2 separate regions of the Homo sapiens genome follow, and region 2 is linked to region 1. The links are contacts of gene promoters, found by promoter capture Hi-C in blood cells and fetal thymus (Javierre and others, 2016). All regions are on one chromosome and are shown on one strand. The core of a region is centred on a gene start or on the middle of the fragment in contact, and the rest is flanking DNA. Distances in the headings are between cores, read along the strand shown.

Evidence for each region. Contacts are between HindIII fragments. The CHiCAGO score rates a contact against its expected background, and 5 or more counts as called.
Region 2: a contact is called between the fragment with the promoter of ARHGAP19 here and the fragment with the promoter of R3HCC1L in region 1, in 2 of 17 cell types (fetal thymus and activated CD4 T cells). The highest score is 7.1, in fetal thymus.

What each region holds. Positions count from the first base shown.
Region 1 is chr10:98,133,154-98,136,196 of GRCh38, forward strand. R3HCC1L (R3H domain and coiled-coil containing 1 like) reads left to right here and starts at 1,504. Exons shown (of 10, transcript NM_001351015.2): 1 at 1,504-1,553. RefSeq lists enhancers at 1,931-2,720, 2,063-2,202. The HindIII fragment of the contact is 1,235 bases long and covers 1,084-2,318 here.
Region 2 is chr10:97,291,133-97,294,175 of GRCh38, forward strand. ARHGAP19 (Rho GTPase activating protein 19) reads right to left here and starts at 1,505. Exons shown (of 12, transcript NM_032900.6): 1 at 1,440-1,505. The coding sequence starts at 1,495. ARHGAP19-SLIT1 (ARHGAP19-SLIT1 readthrough (NMD candidate)) reads right to left here and starts at 1,541. Exons shown (of 15, transcript NR_037909.1): 1 at 1,440-1,541. RefSeq lists enhancers at 317-1,075, 1,076-1,832 and a silencer at 1,177-1,226. The HindIII fragment of the contact is 8,887 bases long and covers 1-2,937 here.

The DNA of each region.
Region 1 (3,043 bases), core at 254-2,753:
CAAAGGCAGGCAGCCCAGCACCAGGCACCAGACCCAAAACCAGACCTGAAACCAGGCCTGGGCCTGCCTGGCCTAAACCTAGTAGTTAAAAATCAACTCATGACTTAGCATAGATTCCAGGCATTGTATGGAAGAACATTGTACTCTGTTCTGTTTCACTCTGACTACCACTGCATGAAGCCCCTGTCACATACACCCCAGATTGCTCAATCAATCACGACCCTTTCATGTGAAATCTTTAGTGTGGTGAGCCCTTAAAAGGGACAGAAATTGTGCACTCGGGGAGCTTGGATTTTAGGACAGTAGCTTGCCGATGCTCCCAGCTGAATAAAGCCCTTCGTTCTACAACTTGGTGTCTGAGAGGTTTTGTCTGCGGCTCGTCCTGCTACAATAGAATCTCCAAGATTTGGTGACCATTTGAATATTGGAGGAAGAGGAAGTGAGAAAGGAGGAATCAGGTTAAAGAGTGAATATTAATGAGTAGGGAGGAGGGGTAGTAGTTTACTTTTCTTTTTTTGGGGGACGGAGTCTCCCTGTGTTGCCCAGGCTGGAGTGCAGTGGTGCAATTTTGGCTTACTGCAACCTCCGCCTCCCGGGTTCAAGCGATTCTCCTTCAAGCAATTCTCCTGCCTCGGCCTCCTGGGTAGCTGGGATTACAGGTGCCCACCACCACGCACAGCTAATTTCTGTACTTTTAGTAGAGACAGGGTTTCACCATGTTGGTCAGGCTGGTCTCGAACTCCTGACCGCAGGTGATCCACCTGCCTTGGCCTCCCAAAGTGCTGGGATTACAGGCATGAGCCACTGTTCCTGGCCCCAGTAGTTCACTTTTCAAGGACACTGGAGATGCCTGTGGGCATGGATGAGGAGAGGTCTTGTCTAGGAAGTTGGGAATACAAACAATGAGCTCAGGTGAGAAGGGACTGGAGTGTCCCCTCTCCCACCCCAATTTTAAGAACTCTGGAAAACACCAATATTTTAGAGGTAAGTTAGAGGAAACAAAGTAGAATGAATTCAGAGAAGGAAAACCTGGATAGTGTCATAGAAAATAAGTGATAATGCCCAATAGCGTCAAATGACTAAAGCTTGAGTTAGATGAGTCCGGAAATACCTCCAATGAGTTTGGCAACAAGGACACTTATGACAACAAGGCATTTTCCATGGGGGCGGAAGCTGCGATGAGGAGTGAACACAGATGAGCAAGTAGAGACAGTGTAGATTATCTTTTTCAAAAAACTTGGCTGTGAACGGAGGAAGTGAGATGGTATAATTGAGTGGAATGTAAGGAGATTTGCGCACGTATATAGCCGAGAGGAATGAGGAAGGGTTGAAGGGACAGGAGCAGAAATGCTCTCCGGCACTCGCCATTTTGCCAGCTTCTCCCCTACGTGACCTGAACTCAGTGGGCGCGGCCGGGCCTCGCGGAAACTACAACCCCCAGAAGGCCCCACGGCGTTGGGGGCGGAGCCGAGGCCTGACGCGCGCCCCAGCGGCGCGAGCGGAAGAGATAGAGCTTCGCGGAGACGGCGGAAGCGGAGAGCAACAGCGCGCCGGTAACAACCAGCCCCGTATCCCCTCCCTCTGTACCTCAAGCTAGGATTTTTAATCCCCACTTCTCCCTTCACAGCCCGGGACAAGACTTCCATTCCGTCGTTTGTTGCTGGTATTTTTTTTCCTCATGTGACGCGAGGGGCCGCCCCCTGCCTGGGGCGGAGGTTACTGGGAAGCTCCCGCCTTCTGACCCCTGCGGGCCCGCGGTTGAGAGGGACCCTCCCGGGGCTCTTTTGCACTCACTGGGGCTCGTGCTCGCTTTGGGCGCTCGCCCCAAATGATCCTGGCGGAAAGGACGTGCTTTTTCTGGGTTTCAACAGGTATTGAGCGGGGTCCCTGGTTACCCCCTCGGGGCTGCGGGGCCGTGGGCCCCCAGGGCTGCCGGCGGTTTCCGGGCTTCGCTTCGAGCCTCGCCTTTGAGCCTCCTCCGCTGCCCGGGAGCCCCGGGCTACGGGCTGGGAGTGAGCAATCTATAAAGGAGCATGTACTTCCTGCTTTTTCTTGGCAGGCCTGCGAAAAACCCCAAGTCCGATCTTTAAAGTTTGTGAGTGCAGCCCCCTCTCAGTTGTGTACGGGAAGGAGCACAGGATTTGGAGTCTGATATCCTGGGGGAAGTCTCAGTCCGCCACTTGGCTGGACCTGTGATCTTTTGTACAGTAGTCTGTTTAGCGCAGCCTCGGTTTCGTTGTCTGAAAAGTGGGGTTAATGTTCTTTGCCCTGCGGCCTTCCAGGGTTGTGGGCTTCAGCAGAAGTGATATTCCTGCGAAAGCTTTGAACTCTAAAGTATGTTTCGGGTATAACCTTGCCATCCCCCAGTCTCCAGTCTAGGTCAGTTGAGTTTTAAAACCAGGTTCATGTCTATACGAAGATCAAATTAGTTAATAAATAGGGGGAAAGTGTCTTTGGAAACGAATCTGAACCATACAGATGTTTTTATGCCAGGTTCCTAGTGAAGAGGTGACCTTAGGGCGTTACCACCTGTGGAGTCAATTTAAAACTTCATCTGGATTTTAAGGCCCACCAGAATTTAGACTCTTCTTCCTCAGCACACACAACTATCTCTTGCTGTTATAACCTTCCTTCAGTATCACACAGGTACAAGCATAAAGCAGTAAACGTTCCTCAGATATGGTTGTACTACAACTAATACCTGTCCCCAGCAGGTCTTGTGTCTTGTGTCACAGTTGAAATTCAGAATATAAATAGCCAAATATCCCATCTGTTTAATTTTTTTTGACATTAAGCTTTGAGACTAAGCAAGTTGCTTATTGTCTTATTTTTCCCCTTACAGAGAATGCTAATTCTGCAATCAGTTTTTTTTTTTTTTTTGGGTAGAATCAGGATTTCACTATGTCGCCCAGATTGGTCTAACTCCTGGGCTCAAATGATCCTCCCGCCTCGACCTCCCAAAGTGTTGGTATTACAGGCGTTTGACACTGTGCCCACTGTGCCCGACCTCTGCGATTAATTTTTAAAGGGGTAAGAAAGTGTA
Region 2 (3,043 bases), core at 255-2,754, 840 kb before region 1:
ACAGCGGGAGGGACAAGGATCAGGATATAAACCCAGGCATTAGAGCCAGCAACGGCCACCCACTTTGGGTCCCCTCCCTTTGTGTGGGAGCTGTGTTTTCACTCTATTTCACTCTATGAAATCTTGCAACTGCAAAACAAAAACAAAACAAAACAAAAAAGAGTGGAAAACTCTTCCATATCATATTTTATTTTATTTATTTATTTGAGACATAGTCTTGCTCTGTCACCCAGGGTGGAATGCAATGGCGCATCTGGGCTCACTGCAACCTCCGCCTCAACCTCCTGAGTAGCTGGGACTACAGGCGCCCGCCACCACACCCGGCTAATTATTGTATTTTTAGTAGAGACGGGCTTTCATCATGTTCGCCAGGCTGGTCTCGAACTCCTGATCTCAGGTGATCCGCTCCCCTCGGCTTCCCAAAGTGCTGGGATTACAGGCGTAAGCCACCATGCCCGGCCCCGTATGATATTTTAAATAACACACTCAACCACGCTCATCTGGGCTCAGGAAGAAGCCGAGTCACAAAGTTATTAGTTTCCCAAGATTCTTGGAATCTCTTATTCGGTACAAATGGAACCAAAAGACGCCAAACCGAAGTATTTTACTGAGTTACACTGAGGCAACGTAAATAAACTCAATCTATTGAATTACACCAAAAACAAAATTGTAATCAATTAAGACAACTTAGGTCTCAAGGCTAAGGCAACACCACCTCGAAATTCTCTCCTGAAAACGCTAAATCTCGGTGTGGCTGTTTAGGAAAGAACATCCTGTGGAAATAAAGTCATGATGTCCTGGACTACAGATCCCTCTCCCATCTGCTCCTTAGCTGTTCTACTAGGAAGAAGAAAATCTATTGCGTAGAGTTGTCATTATCGGCTAAACTCAGTGCTAGCTTTAAATGGATTGTCTTATTCAATCTTGACACTTGGAAATAGGCATCCTCACGTCCCTTTGCAGATGAAGAAACTGAAGTCGAGAGAGGTTTAAAAACTGGCCCAAGGACTCAACACTGTTTCTAATTGACACTCAAATCCTTGCTCGGACCTGAACGCACAAAGTGCCTCGGAGAAGATGTGAAGCGCTGTGTGCAACAGTGAGGAATTCGCTAACCAGCCCTGGACTTCCGTTTCCTCGCCATCAAGAGGTGTCTCGGCGCCAAAGCGATCAGCGCTGCCACCCCCAGCTGGACGTCTGCAGCCAGCGCAGCGGGAGGAGCCCCCTCGGGCACCGGCAGGACCGAGCGGGGGGTTTGGCTGGAGTCCAGCGCCCAGGCCCGACCCCCGCGCCTCAGCCCCCGCAGGCGCGACGATGAGAAACGCCGTGGGAGAAAGAAACAAAGCCCGAACCGTGCGCCTCCGTGACCCAAGGCAAAGGCGGCAGGACTACCAGCCCAAGGCCGCGTTTCCCAGGAAACTGGACCAAACTCAGCTCACCTCCGGCCGGATTCGCGGGCTGGCACCTCCCCTTCACTCTGTGCCTCAGTCGCCATCTTCGTCAGCAAACTTCTTTCACCGCCCCACCTTACGTCCCGCCCCCACATATTTGGATTGGCTAATATGTTTTCACCTCTTCCGTGCGATTGGATGACTCGACCGCCCCTCCTCAACCTGAACCGTTTAATATATTATTGGTCTATTCAAATGACTAACCGTCATTGGTCGTTCCCAGCCCTGGCGGAAAAAGAGGGAGGGGCGGGGAAGAAGACCCAGCCCCGAGGCCTGCCGGGAGTTGTAGTTTCTCATTTTGATGAACCCTTCCGATTCCACAGACCTTTAGGTTCAAGTCAGAAATCACCAGCCTATGCTCAAATTTTGTCCTGATATGTAAATCAGGGAATTATAGAACTGTCAACTTTGAAAGTGACTCATCACTTTCTAAAATGCAAGACTCCGTACCCTATATCTCAGCATCACACAATATACCCAGATAACAAACCAACTCATGTACCCCCTAAATTTAAAATAAAAGTTGAAAATAAATAATTTTTTTTTACAATTTTTTTAATTTTTTTTTTCTGTTGAGACAGGGTTTCACCATGTTGCCCAGGCTGGTCTCGAACCCCTGAGCTCAAGCAATCCTCCTATGTCAGCCTCCCAAAGTGCTGGGATTACAGGCATGAGGCACTGCACCCAGCCATAAATTAATTCATTTAATTTAATGTAATTTAATGCAAGACTCGTTCTCTGTCTTGACCCAGAGATAAATCCCTCAAGTGCAGGCAGGGAGTGGCAACCTAGAAGTACTTGCTTTTAAACGTATAGTTCAAAGCCTTCTTTCTTCAGATACTCAGCATAGCCCTAGCCATAGGTCATTTCTTTCTTCCTTTATTTCTTTCTTTTTTTTTTTTTTTTGAGATAAGGTCTCCCTCTGTCTCCCATGCTGGAGCACAGTACAATATTGCAGCATACCAACACACAGGGCAAATTTTTGTACTTTTTGTAGAGATGGGGTTTCACCCTGTTGGCCAGGCTGGAGTCGGTCATTTCTGCTTCAATACATTCACTCCCTTCCAACTTCCCAGAGAACCCACAGAGTTTGCCTTGTGATATGAACCATGGAACCAAAAGCTGCATGACTTTGTCCCAAACTAAACTTTAATCCTCAATGGTAGGAATAACCATAATTATCCTTGTCCTCCCTGCGGCACACACTTCTCCTAGGGATTAACTGAGGCAACATATGTGAGAACATTGTAAATTTTGAGCATTGTTGTTTTTTGTTTTTCCATATTGTTTTCCTATGCTGGACTTTTCTCGGGAATTTCTGTATTGATCCTTCTGATATCCTGCCACCTGGGGCTCTCCCTGCACTCTGCCTCCTTTTTACTAAACTGTACTGCACATGCTTCACTTTCTGAACTGTCTTAGGGCTTTTGCACATGTTGCTTTTTCTGGCTCGTCCATTTTTCCACTTTTTTGGCTTTCAGGTCGAAGCTTAAATGTCACTGGCTCAAAGATCTTCCATGACCCCCATTGTATAAATCAATTCCCTCAGTAAACTTTCACAAAGAACTCTGTACTATTCTTTCACAGTTCAT